Linked DNA regions of Homo sapiens: region 1 is linked to region 2. The links are contacts of gene promoters, found by promoter capture Hi-C in human tissues and cell types (Jung and others, 2019). All regions are on one chromosome and are shown on one strand. The core of a region is centred on a gene start or on the middle of the fragment in contact, and the rest is flanking DNA. Distances in the headings are between cores, read along the strand shown. Region 1 overlaps TMEM45B (transmembrane protein 45B). Region 2 holds the start of ST14 (ST14 transmembrane serine protease matriptase).

The links. The method cuts DNA at HindIII sites, captures the fragments that hold promoters and counts their contacts. A contact is called where the count stands out against the background at its distance.
Region 1: a fragment that was not itself captured here is called in contact with the fragment with the promoter of ST14 in region 2 in 2 of the 25 tissues and cell types used here (spleen and thymus).

What each region holds. Positions count from the first base shown.
Region 1 is chr11:129,816,415-129,823,084 of GRCh38, forward strand. All of the region lies in intron 1 of TMEM45B (transmembrane protein 45B), which reads left to right. Among named protein-coding and RNA genes, the nearest start is that of TMEM45B, 3.9 kb to the left of the region's middle. The HindIII fragment of the contact is 6,152 bases long and covers 952-6,670 here.
Region 2 is chr11:130,155,034-130,162,588 of GRCh38, forward strand. ST14 (ST14 transmembrane serine protease matriptase) reads left to right here and starts at 4,749. Exons shown (of 19, transcript NM_021978.4): 1 at 4,749-5,027. The coding sequence starts at 4,947. RefSeq lists silencers at 4,628-4,747, 4,828-4,897 and an enhancer at 5,985-6,484. The HindIII fragment of the contact is 3,998 bases long and covers 3,737-7,555 here.

The sequences.
Region 1 (6,670 bases), core at 2,778-5,277, 340 kb before region 2:
ACACGAGCCAGATCCTTTCCTGAGGCCAGGAAGCCTGGAATCTAATAACACCGGGCGGTGGATAAAGTCCCCCGAGCCAGTGCTTAGCTTCCGTTAATGGAGCCATGGATGGAAGCGGATGTCAGGCGCAGTGGGGGAGAAATTTGCGGGGGTGGCCCTGTCTAGGGCCAGAGAAACAACCTCTGAAGCTTTGATCCAGCCCTAGAGGGAAGAAAGATGTGAGTTTCAGCCAGGGAAACGTAGCACTTTAAGAAATAGAAACCCTTTCAAAATTTGAGGGCAGGTAGCTCTCCTAAAAGTTGCAGAAATGGCCACTTCTTTTTTTTTTTTTTTTTTTTTTTGAGACGGAGTCTCGCTCTGTCGCCCAGGCTGGAGTGCAGTGGCGCAATCTCGGATCACTGCAAGCTCCACCTCCCGGGTTCACACCATTCTCCTGCCTCAGCCTCCCGAGTAGCTAGGACTACTGGCGCCCGCCACCACGCCCGGCTAATTTTTTGTATTTTTTTTTTTTTTGGTAGAGACGGGGTTTCACCGTGTTAGCCAGGATGGTCTCGATCTCCTGACCTCATGATCCACCCGCCTCAGCCTCCCAAAGTGCTGGGATTACAGGCGTGAACCACCGCGCCCAGCTAGAAATGGCCACTTCTTTCACGTTCTCTTCGACCGCTTTCTGCGGTGTCTGCCCTTTTCCTCCTCCTGCACCTTTTTGTCTCCTAGGGTCGCATAGCCTTCCAAACAGGCCTGCCTACAGCATTTTACCTGCAATTTTACACTCATTTTAATAGAAAGGATGGCTTATTGTTCATGAGAGACGTGTACTGTTTTTAACCAGATGTGTAATATCTTCAGTATAACCTGGATGTTGTGCAGTGGGAAGTTATGGAAAGAATCAGGACACGTGGTTAGGTAGGGGCCCAGGGGCGTCAGACTTAGCTCTTTGTGACAGTGAGCTTCTTGGTTTAATAAGGATATTGGCTCCCTCTGTTCCTGGGGTTTCTGGGAAAAGATATGGAACTGATATGAAGGTTTTATTGAATATGGCCCACTGATTTTACAAGTGGAGGTGACTGAGATAAGCAGAAGGTGAGGCATGACCTCTGGCTGTGCATTATTTGTTCTGATATTACAGGAGCCAAGCATTCCATTTCCTTCTTTTTAAAGAGCTTTGATTTCCTCTCACATCTTCATGAAGATGGAAACAGTGCCCCCACTTACTTATCCTCAGGCCACACCTGTTCCCATTTATTCCATGAGTTCCTCCCACACCCTTCTGGTTGATGTTGGTTGTGATGGTCGAGGTAATTGAATCTCACATTTGGCACCAGTTATTTCTGTTTCTCATCTCCCCCCTACCTGCAGTTAAACATCAGCTGCTATACTTAACTGTTCAAAGTACAGATGTTACCTGTGTTGGGTGTAATCAAAAGATTATCTCTTTTCCTCAAATGAAAAATGGGTGAGGACAGTTTCACCACACATAGAGTCACTCCCCTAGCCAAAGTCCTTGCTATTGCAAAACTTTTTACTGTAAGAGAATTAAAGTCACTAGTGTGTCATCAACTAATGGTACTTATAGACACATTCCATATTTGTTTCTATAGAAAGATCATAAGACAAACACTAGATTATTCCCAGTATGAGACCATACTGAATATGAACAATTAGAGGCCACAGGTGAGTGCTGTCCTCCTCACACTTTCTTTGAACTCTTAAGCTTCTACTCTTTTAACCAGCTACCCCTCTCCCCAAAACCTTCACTGAGGCTAGAAACAAACACAAATAGACTATTTGAATTTTAGCAAATTTTATCTCTCTTTTCTATTCTCTTGTGTAAAACTTAAATGGCCACAAGCTACACTACTGGAGGAAAAAGGAAAGCTAAAAGGTCTATCAGCCTTCTGTATGTGATGCAGAGTTCAACTGAATATAGCAAGGTACACACCCGCATTCTCCTTGCCAGGACTTAGATATCATAAGCCATTATCTTGCTGGTTGTTGAAATCATAATGGGGCTTTATAGAGCACAAGGCGATGTTTGTAAACAGCACTGTTCAGGTCAGATTAGAATCCGTATTTCAAAAATGAGGAGATGGAAACAGAGATATTGTGTATGTGGTCCAGGGTTAGCCAGTAATTAAATGGCAGAGCCAGAACTCAAACCAACATTCCTTCCAGAATACCACAGCTGCCTCTGGAGTGGTTTTTGTTGTTCTTGTTGAATTTTGTGATGGAAGATTGTGATTTGTTTTTCCCGAACACTTAATATGTTTTCTGACTTGAATTATCAGAATCTAAATTTAGAAACTCTCTCGTTTGGTATATTTCATGCCCATCTTTGTTCCATATAATTACAAAAATATCTTAGAGCTGAGTATAACCTTAAAGATTGTCAAGTCCAATCTTGTGGTTTTTCAAGGAAGAAAACCGGATTTAAGAAAAATAAAGCAAGTACCTCATGTTGCTTCCCCAAATCTACTTCATTGGAGAATTACAGCTAAAAACAATGTTCAGATTTTTGCTCCTTCTGTCATGTGGTCCCTTGAGAATTTGCCAAATGTATAAATCCAGTGACTTATTTTGATGTACTCTTTTGGTTTGAGGTCTGTGACAGCAAACATAACCTCCTTGAATCCCAGCCTCAAATGCCTATGGACCTTCTGTTCTAACTGTTATTATAACTGTAGCCGTTATTATAGTGGCTAAAGTTCTAACTTCTGTTCTAACTGTGCTCCTGGTTCCATGACAAAGAGAGCTTTACTTGTCTTATTCCTAGCACAGTGCCCATAGCAGGCATACATAAAATGTGGTATGTCAGATAAACATCTGAAAAAGTGTGAGATGTCATTAGACGTTCATTCAGCTACAAGAACAGAAAACCCTACTACAGCGGCTTAAACAAGTAAGGAGTTTGTTTTTCTCAGAGAACGAGAAGTCTGGAGGTGAGAAGGCTGGGGCTGGGAAAGGGGTTCCGATATGAACGTCATCTGAGACAGGCTCCTTGTGTCTTCCCGCACCACCCTCCTTAGCATGGAGCTTTCATACTCACTTCCGCAAGTTGCAGCAGAAAGACGGGCAGAGGCATGCTCCAGAAGAGTCTTGTCTTGTCTTTTCTTTTCTTTTCTTTTCTCTCTTCTTTTCTTTTCTCTCTCTCTCTCTCTGTCTCATCTCTTTCTTTCTTTTGACTCAGAGTCTCTCTCAGTGGCACAATCTCGGCTCACTGCAACCTCCGCTTCCTGGGTTCAAGTGATTCTCCTGCCTCAGCCTCCAAGTAGCTGGGATTACAGACGTGCACCACCACGCCCAGCTAATTTTTGTATTTTTAGTAGAGACGGGGTTTCACCATGTTGGTCAGGCTGGTCTTGAACTCCTGACCCTGTGATCTGCCCCCCTCGGCCTCCCAAAGTGCTGGGATTACAGATGTGAGCCACCACGCCTGGCCTGTCCTTCTTTATAATAAATAATAATAATAACAGCTTTTCTGGTAGCCCACCCCAAAAGACTTCTTACATGTCATTGGCCAGAACCATATCACATACACACTGTTAACGGTGACGGAACCAGAGAGAATCTAGTGTTTGAGACAGACACGTTGCCAATACATCAAAATAAGAATTTTGGGCCAGACACAGTGGCTCACGCCTGTAATTCCAGCATTTTGGGAGGTCAAGGCGGGTGGATCACCTGAGGTCAGGAGTTCAAGACCAGCCTGGCCAACATGGTGAAACCCCATCTCTACTAAAAACACAAAAAATCAGCCGGGCGTGCTAGCAGGCGCCTATAGTCCCAGCTACTCAGGAGGCTGAGGCAGGAGAATCGCTTGAACCCAGGAGGCAGAGGTTGCAGTGAGCCGAGATCATGCCACTTGCACTCCAGCCTGGACAACAAGAGCGAAACTCCATCTCAAAAAAATAATAATAACAACAAAATAGGAATTTTGTTAATAAGGCGGGGGGAGAATGAACATTGGGTAGGCAGCTAGCAGCATCTGCCATAGTGTGTTTTATGAGTCATAGATCCTGTCTCTAAATAGGTTGTTATTTGTTTTGGTTTTTTGTTTGTTTTACTAAAAAGCAATGGGTAATGCAGTGGGTCCAGGGGAACTTTTTTAAATGGTAGAGTGCAAGGACCACTCTGAGAACTGCTGATTATGTAGGTCTGGGCTGGGTCTATAATTCTCCATTATGGACGGGCACGCCAGGTCATCTGAGGGCAGGTGGTTGCGGGAATACATTTTGAGAAACACCGAATGTCAGGTAGTTTAGCAAAAGCGACTTTATTTTATTTCTGTTAGCTTTTTGCCTCACTCCTCTTGAGGGTATACTTTATTTTTTAATTATCTGCTTTGGTCAACATAAATCAATGTATAGTCTTAGAAGTCGTTCATTGTAGAAGGTTTTCATTGAGTTTATACTGAGTATAGAACCCTAGCGGCAATTACTTTCAATGCTTTGGGTTGTGTTTTTCTGATATTACCATATTCTAAATAGCATGCAGATACGGGCCATTTCTTCTTCTCTTTTCCAGTTCTGGATGACATCTATTGACATCCTACCAAGAAGGATGAGGGTTTCGCTCCTTTACACCCCCACCCTCCCTCTCACCTTCACATCCCTTTCTTTTAAGTTCCCAGTACGGTTATATCCTAAATTTTTGATATGTCAATGTTTGGTGTATATATTATTCCCAACTAAGGCACATGATACACCATGATCTTTACATTTCCCTTCTTGACCAGTCTTTCCCCCAACCCCCTGGAATGGGGTGTAGGAGTTGCTACATTTTCTTTAGTTGTTTGAGAACTCATCACCAAGAAGTCATTTCCTGGAGCCAAGGAAACTCATGGGGGCCCTCTGAGTGCTGCTAATTGCATGGAGCTGTTGAGTGGGGAGGAAACGCCAGGCCGCCATCAAGAAGCATTTGGGGTAAATTTTCCAAGCACATCTGAAAAGACAGAGTCTAGAACCTCCACGGTCCCTGTCTGTTGTGATTTATTTTCTCATTCTAAATACACACACACTTTTTTTTTCTGTCTAGGCCATCTCTTGTGGAATACATATGTACTTTCATACCCAATTATGTACAGTTTTTGTAATTTTACGCCTTTTTCTTAAAGAAGGCTCCCAAAAGTGTATAAGATTCAGGCCCCATAAGATGCGGTTGCTTTTTGAGCTTGTGCCCATTTGAGATGTCACTTTTCTTCCTTCACACTTGCTTGCTGGTTTGGCTGGGTATGGGATATTAATCAGAAATCATTTCCCGTACGAATTTTGAAAACATTGCTCTATTTTATTCTACTTTCTTACGGTGCTGTTGAGAGGCTGATGCCATTCTAATTCCTGATCCCTTGTATTTTGTTCTAATCTCTGGGCATTTGTAGGGTTTTCTTTATTGTTCATATTCTGATATTTCATGATGTTGTTATTTAATGTTGGGGTGGGTTTTTTGGCGGGGTGGGGGGAATACAGGGAGGTATCCGTCACTGTCCTAAGTATTTTCTAGGCCTTTTCAATCCAAAAAGTACATTCTTCAGTTCTGAGTGGTTTTCTTCTGTTATATAATTTCCTCGTTCTTTCTTTCTGAAACTTAAATTACTTAGACTGAATCTGAAAATGGGATCTCTTGGATCTGTCTTGTAATTTTATCTTTTTTATTTTAAAAAATATCCCATGTTTTTTTAGTTCTAATAAATCTTCCAACAATGCTATTAAATGTTTACATTCTACCATTATATTTTTAATTCTCAGGAGCTTTTATTGGCGAGAGGTGTGGTCTTCTGAATGGTTTTTACAGTATCCTGTTCTCATTTCATGAACGCAGCATCTTCTCTTCTTTCTCCAAGCATATTAACTCAGTACTTTTTCTACATTTTAGAAGTTTTCTTCAGCTACCTACAATGTCTGTGTCTATTTTTAAAGTGACGTTTAATGTTGCTTTTGGCCTGCCTTTCACGTTGGAAGCTTTATACATGTTTGGGGATGGTGTGCGTCATCTGTGAGCATGGCTTGTAGGTTGGCTGGCTTCATTGCAGGGTGGTTAAGCAGAGAAGGCCTTTTTGATGGCTTATCATCATCTGTCTCTAGTGCTTTCTAGTACATATAATGGGTTTCTCTGTAGAAAGATCTCATTTCTAGCCATTTATTCCTGTTTGAGAAAAGTCACATAATAACTTAGATGTATTTATTATGTCATCTGCTTAATAGCGGAGGTTCTTGTTGTAAGGTGGACAGGTGGAGGTCTAGGATTCAAAATGGGAAATGTGTCCTTGACTCCGCCTGCACTTTGAAGTTGCTGATGTTCTCCATGTTTTATTTTCTATTGAAAAAGCTCTGAGATACTAGGGAATGAAAACTCTTTGACTACATGTACAACTAATTTACTTTTTGATAACCATTTGCAAAATATGGATTATATTGGGAAAACATTTTTCTTTTTTTTTTTTTTTTTGAGACAGAGTCTCACTCTGTGGCCCAGGCTGGAGTGCAGTGGCGCGATCTCAGCTCACTGCAAGCTCCGCCTCCCGAGTTCAAGCCATTCTCCTACCTCAGCCTCCTGAGTAGCTGGGATTACAGGCGCCCACCACCATGCCCAGCTAATTTTTGTATTTTTAGTAGAGACAGGGTTTCACCATGTTGGTCAGGCTGGTCTCGAACCCCTGACCTTGTGATCCACC
Region 2 (7,555 bases), core at 3,499-5,998:
TAAACAAATGGGTGTTTGTGGCACACAAACCCGCTCTGCTGCTGCAAAAGGAGGGGTCATCTTCTCCCCTATATTCCTAGAACATCATCTTTTGTTTAGAGATGGGGTCTCACTTATGTTGCCCAGGCTGGAATACAGTGGCTATTCACAGGTGTGATCACAGCTCACTGAGGCCTCGAACTCCAGGGCTCAGAGATCTTCCTGCCTCAGCCTCCCGAGCAGCTGGAACCACAGGTGCCTGCCACAGAGCCTGGCCTGCTAGAGCGTCGTCTTTCATCTCAGAGCTGAATGAGCATCTTGCCCACAGAAGTGCTCAGTGCTGGCATTTGAATGCTATCCATATGCAATGCATCAGCTGCAAATTCAGATGAAGAGGAAGCCACGCAGAGGCCAAGCCCTTCCCCCTAGGACCGCTGTGCCGCACCAGCTCATGGAAGTGCAGGAGCCAGGAGGAAGCGTAGCCATCAACTATCACATCAGACCCATTTGGTTTAATCCTCATGAAATTATGATATGCTGGCCGGGCGTGGTGGGTCATACCTGTAATCCCAGCACTTTGGGAGGCCAAGGCGGGTGGATCACCTGAGGTCAGGAGTTCAAGACCAGCCTGGCCAACATGGAGAAACCCCATCTCTACTAAAAATACAAAAATTATCTGGGAGTGGTGGCACGCACCTGTGATCCCAGCTACTTGGAAGGCTGAGGCAGGAGAATCACTTGAACCTGGGTGGAGGTTGCAGTGAGCCGAGATCCGAGATTGTGCCATTACACTCTAGCCTGGGTGACAAGAGCAAAACTCTGTCTCAAAAAAAAAAAAAAAAAGAAAGAAAAGAAAATAAAATAAAAAAAAGAAATTATGGTATGCTTTTGTTTCTAAACTCGGTGAAGAGACCCAGTAGCAGACAGCTTACTTGACGGACACTGATCAGCTCCACAGACTGTCCTCGCTCACTGTCTCCAAACAGCATTTTCAGTGCTCTTATGTGTATCAGGAAGATCAAAATACACTATACCATAAGTCCTAAGTGACGGAAGAGATTAGTTATTAAATTCTGGGGAAAGTTAATCATATTCACTTTGAAACTTTAGCTGAATTTGGATCTCACTAAGGGGAAGGGGCCAAGTCATCGGGGATGGGGTGGGAAGGACCGTGCAGGAAAAAGCAGCATTACCTCAAGGATACTAAACACCTGGCGTTTAGAAAGTGCATTTTCCCCATGAAGCATGTTTGACAGGGAAGCATGAGGGCTGTGCCAAGACAAAAGCAGAAGTGGTTCTAGGTGTCGAATTCATATAAACCTTGTTGTTTCAGAAGGTTTAGGTACATTTATGGATGCCAGCTCCATAACCGGTTCATTTGACTTTATTCTGTTCATTCTCAACCTCTACCACACCTCTTTGCTGTTTGCACTTTTCTTCTTTATTGAAGGAGCATGAGTCGCCTGCAGGCCTGGCACAAGCTGCTCTGGTCTCCCCGCCTTGGATGGTACCAGAGCACTGGCTGTTTCACACTTGGGCTGGGCCTACCTCACATGGCCCTACTGTCTCCCACATTGTCACCAGCTTCAGCCAGTGTCCTTTAGCCTGTGGGCAGGTCCACATTTGCACACCTTCTAAGTGGTCCCGGCCACAAGGACATAGGGGCTTGTTGGACATGCCCTTGAGGGGGTCCCAGGGACACAGATGTAACTTTCCCAGCAGGCAGTCCTGGAACCAGGAAGAGGATGGCTCCCTGGAGAGGAGCGATGACAGCTTTGCAGTGCTGGGGCCGGGGAAGGGCCAGTGAGGGGGTGGTGGAGAAGGCACAGTGGGTGGTGAAGGTTGGGTCATTTGGTCATGAGTCACTCTTTCTATAGCAGAGAAATGACACGGACCTCAAGCCAAAATCTGGGCTTGAGTTGGATTTGTTCCTTGTGAGTGTGAGAATCTGGTCCTGTTCTGGAGGCTGTCTGCTCTTGGGTTCCTTCACTTACCATTTAGGAACAAAAGCACTGACATTTCATAATTTTTTGAGGATTAAACCAAATGGGATTCATGGAATAACATATGGTTACACTGCCTCCTCCAACCCAGGAGTGCACATAGGGTGCATGCAGCAAGGTATCCCCATGCAGCCATCCTAGGGGAAGGGTCTTGTCCTGCATCGCTTTCTCTTCATCTGCACTAGCAGTCAATGCATTGCATTCATACGGCATCCAAATCACGCTGAGCGCCCAGCTCTACGAGATAAAAGATGAGGCCCTAGGAAGTGGGGAGACAACGTGAGTCACTGCGTTTGCAGCAGCACAGAAGGTCTGTGTGTCAGGAGTACCATCTCATTTACGTCACATTGAATTTGGCTTACTTTCCATCACTCACACTAGTTGAAGAATGCTGTGCCATTGGTAATCCAAAGGAAAATTTATTTTTATATATTTTCTTTTTCTTTTTTTTCTTTTCTTTTTTTTTTTTTTTTTTTGAGAGATGGAGTCTCGCTCCAGGCTGGAGTGTAGTGGCATGATCCCGGCTCACTGCAACCTCCACTTCCCAGGTTCAAGCAATTCTCCTGCCTCAGCTTCCCAAGTAGCTGGGACCACAGGCATGCACCACCATGTCCAGCTAATTTTTGTATTTTTAGTAGAGATGGTGTTTCACTATATGTTGGCTAGGCTGATTTCAAACTCCTGACCTCAGGTGATCCACCCACCTCAGCCTCCCAAAGTGCTGGAAGCCAACGTGCCAGCCTTTTAGAAATATTTTCTGTTTAGCTTTGGAATGCTTTATGTGATGGAAGGCAGCAGATTCATTCTTCTTTCAATTAAATTGACCCAATATATTGTGTTAGTCATTGTGCTAGGCTTTGAGGGTGCAAAGGCAGTTAAGACACAGACAGAAAATGCAACGAAATGGTGGTGAGCTCCATGAGAGAGGTACAAACAGAGCTAGTTCTGGTTGAGAGGGAAGGAAACTCCTGGGGAGGAGGTAGCATATCAGTCAGGAAGCGTGAGGTTTGCAGCAATAACAAACAACCCTCAGCTCTCGGTGGCTTAACATCCCAAAAGCTGACTGACTCCTCATTCATGCTACATATCCAGTGTGTGTCATTGTAGCCACTTAGGGTCACAGGTCACAGAGTTAAACCTCTCAGAAGAGAGCAGGGCATTGTGCAGTGCCTCCTTATGCTGCTATGTACAAGTGGTGTGTCCTCTCATTGGACATTTTCTTGGTTACCGCTAGCCATACTGCCATACCTAACTTCAGAGAAGAGAGAGTAACACCCTGGCCTGTGCCCAGAAGGCAGAGAGCTAAAAACATTCAATGAACAACACTAAAAAACCCCATCGGTGTCTTCGACCCAATATGCGGAAGGAGTATGAAGGAGAAGAGCTTCCAGGGGATGAAAAGCTTTATGAAAGCTGCCAAGATCAGAACGCCTGGCTGGAGAGAGGGGCTCCAAACAGGAATGCTTGGAGGCACGGTGTTAAGGGAGGACAGGGCAGAGTGTGAAGCTGGGCTAAGGAGGTTGGATTTGATCCGGGAGACACGGAAAGTCATAAAGGAGCTGTGGTTTCAGATTTACCTGACTGCTTTGTGTAGGAGAGATCAGAGGGTGGCAGCCCAGAGGCAGGAGATCTTTCTTAACCAGGCAAAGGGCTCTGAGGACTCGAATAGCGGTCTTCTAATGCGCAGGAATGGAAGGGCTATGCTTGTCAGCAGAGTCTTGATCAGATTTGGAACTAATTGGATATGAGATGTAAGCAGGGTGGAGAATCAAAGATGATTCCAGGATTTGAGCCTGGGAGAATGCTGCCATTAGAATTAGAGAAAACAGTGGAAAATGGGCAAGTCAGGGAAGGAAGATGGGGCTTGTTGATCTCAAAGCAGGGATTTTTATTTTGTTCACTCCTGTTTCCCTGTACCCAGGACAGTGCTTAGCGCCTAGTGTGTGCTTGGTAATGTTCATTGGCTACAGAATACAGTAGAACATAAATGGAGACGTCCCCAGGCGACCGCTAAGGCAGAACTGGCACTCCTTGGTGGTGTCTGTGCTGGGAGGGAGGTCTTCCTGTCTGAAGTCGTAAGATGAGACGTGCTGCCAAGAGAAAAAGCTTAGAGAAGAAAGGGATGAAACTGAAGGGAGAACTTTGGGAATCATGACATTTAGGACTAGAAAGGAGGACCGGAATCCAGGGAAAGGGGGCATTTGAGGAAGCATCAGATGCTGCAAGTGGGCGAGGGGCGTTGGGATGGCTCAGAGGGCATCTGGTGGCACAGCTCATGTCACTGGGCCTCCCCAGGGTAGCCGGGCGCAGGCCAGCAAGCGCCTCCCGCCTGGAGAACAGGAGGCTGCGTAGCCGACGGGGAGCCTGGGCCAGGGGCGGTTCTGGTTTCTGTTTGGTTTTGGGGGGTTCATAAATGCGATTTAGTCCTGTAGCAAAGTGAGCAAGGTGAAGGGGAGAGACCGGAGGCGCATGAGGGAGGAGGGAAAAGATGGTTGGCATCAAGGAGGTGGATAAAGGGCTGCCCTCCCGGGGCAGGGCCCCTGGAGGGCCGGAGGGGTGGTGAACGCCGTCGTGGTGATGGTGAGGGCCTTAGCGACCACCACCCGAGTGAGGCCCCCTCACCTTCAGGCCCAGAGCCGAGGGGAGGAGCCTCCCCCAGGGCCGGCGGGGGCGGGCAGGTGAGCCGGGCAGGTGCGCAGGCGAGCGCGGCGGGCTGGGCGGGCCGAGGCCACACCCTGAAACTACCTGCGTGGGCCGGGCCGGAGTGTGAGAGCGGAGCTGCAGCCGGAGAAAGAGGAAGAGGGAGAGAGAGCGCGCCAGGGCGAGGGCACCGCCGCCGGTCGGGCGCGCTGGGCCTGCCCGGAATCCCGCCGCCTGCGCCCCGCGCCCCGCGCCCTGCGGGCCATGGGAGCCGGCCGCCGGCAGGGACGACGCCTGTGAGACCCGCGAGCGGCCTCGGGGACCATGGGGAGCGATCGGGCCCGCAAGGGCGGAGGGGGCCCGAAGGACTTCGGCGCGGGACTCAAGTACAACTCCCGGCACGAGGTGAGCGCGGGCCGGGGACCCGGGGCGCTGGGAAGCTCCTGCCCGCCCGACCCTGCAGCGCGGCGCTGGGCTCGGCCGGCTCCCCTGGCGTGTCCGTCGGTGGCCGAGCTCTGGGCGCACAGGTGGAATTTCCTGTTCAGCGGGTGCCGGGCCGCGGGCGGGCGGGGCTGGCCGGACCTTTGGTACCGGACCGGCTGCGCCCCGCCAGGGGGAGGCGGGAAGCCCCTGGGCCTTCCTGCGCCCTCGGTCCTTTCTTTCCCTGAGTTGAAAAAAGGGGCTCCGTCTCGGCCCCTCCATGACTCTCGCGCTGTTAGTGAACATCTGGAAGAAACCAGGGGCTTGGAGTGGGGTTATTTGGGAGGAAGTGAAATTTCAGGAGGGTTTGGAGTCTCAGCCATCCTTGGCCTCTGCAGAAAGTTTCTTTCGTCTCTCTCCTTCCCCGTCAAAAGGCGCTTTGGGACCTCGCAGAGGACAACTGGGAGGCCAGGGCTTTGGCTGCCATACGGGCTGGAGCTAAGAACTCCAGAGTTGGGCTTGCCTGGGCTTCTCGAGAGGGGATGGAGCCCTTTGGGAAGGCGGCTGTATGGGAAGGGATGTGGGAACACACATGTCTTGAGCCTTTTGCGAAGTACCGAAACAGGAAGCTCTTCTTTGGCAGAAAGAACAATGAAAGACCTATTGAAAGATCTCAAAAAGATTACATGTTCCTGTATGGAGTTGGGGATGGGTCGCTAGTCACTTCATTGACGGACCCACCTAGGTGGTAGTGCCCGGGCGGGACCAGCAGCCAGGTCTCTACCCTCTCTGTCCAAGGCAGACCCCCAGGTTTCCTGGAAGGCCAGGGCATACCAGGTCAGGGCGGCGCTGAGAGGCAGGGGCTGTGTGGCAGAGAGTTTTGCTCCTCTGCAAATGATGGCCTCCCTGCCCTGCCAACCCTCACTTTCTCCCCTCCTTCCGGGTGCCCCTGGGCTCCATAGTCTCCGCCGTTGCTCCCTAAGTCAGGCCTGATTTTGGTGCTGTCTCAGATCAATTCCTTTTGTCCAAGCAGCATCCCGACCTAGGGAGCTTGCAGAAAATCAGACGCTGGGGCTTTGGAGGCTGCCTGCACCACAGACAGGACCTGGGGCTGGGCTCTGCTATTTTCTCCACTTTTCACCCTCAGCAAGGAGGAAAGCTTCCAGTGGACCTGAAGGCTTGGGCCCTTCCCCTGGCTGTGCCTGTGCCCTGCTGTGAGGCAGATTCACCTTCTCTTCCTTGCTGTAATTGCTATGTTTGTGTCCTTGCTAATTGCCTACTTGGGGTTCTAGACTCCCTGCCTCTTCAGCAGAGAACCTGCTGTTTGGAATTTGTTATTTCAGGGCAGTCCGGTGCCCCCACCCCAAGTTTGTTCTCCCTGACTTCCCTTTCTAGGACTCTCCTGCCCACACGGGGAAAGCAGGGTCTTCCTGGTCGTGTGGTCCAGCCTCCTCTCTGAGCCATCTCACCACCTGACAAGCAGCCAGGCTGGGGCTCACCTTCCACTCACCCCCAGGATCCCACATTCAGCGGACTTGTCTTGTCACCTGCAAGCCCTGGCTTTAGTTTCCCCCATCCCTGCTCATTTCCTCCTCCTCTGCGAAGCTCATTTGCTCTCTGCGCCCTTGGGCTGTTCCTTCCCCCTCTGCCATTTTCATTCTCTTGGCTTGCTCTTTGTCTTTTCTCCTGCCGAGCTTTATTGAACTAACTCAGTACCTAGTCCCATGGGTGAAGGGAAGGCTCTCAGAGACCAGTAAGATGTGGTTGTTTCCTTTAAAGAACATCCAGTCTTGAGAGCGAAACTAAGAGACGAATGCCAAAGTTAGCTGTGAGGCGGAGTGTCCAGAGGAAATTGGCCAAAGCTCATTTCCATGTCTTGCAGATTCCTCCCATCCCTGGCCTCACCAGAAATCCCAGTCCCTGGGATCACCCTGTAGTGTGTGTTTGCAGCTAGGATGTCCATCCCCGGCCGGGAGGTGTGGCTGCTGCCCCTGGGTTTATTATCTGGGTCAGCAGAGCCTGGCCCACAGGGTGCTGTTGTTTCTGGGTTCCTTGTCCCCAGTTGCATCCATCCGTGCACCCTTGTTTGGTGGTATTTGTATCTGGCTGTCCCCTTCCCAAGGCTGGTGGTGTGGCCCCTGCCCCACCCCTGCTGTTCCCATCAAGTGTTCTGCGTGGCCTTCAGAGTCCTGATGCACGTTACTGCATCTGGGGATGGTGTGAGCCCTGCCTGCAAGCAAGCAGGGAAACAGATGCCACTTCTTATGGCCATTAATGAGAGCCAGGGAGCCTGCCTCCCTGAGGGTCTTGATTCCTGTTGAGTATTTGATGGTGAATATGAAGCTGCCTTGACATCCACTGGTTCCTTTTCCGATCACAATTGCCCTAGGTAAGACTCAGCATCCCTTAGGCATCCAGAGACCAAGTTTGGAAAAATCGGATGTTGTGTGGCCAAAATCAGATGTCTAGGGGCCAGGGTGTACACCTCTGGCTATTCAGAGGGTCACCTGCTT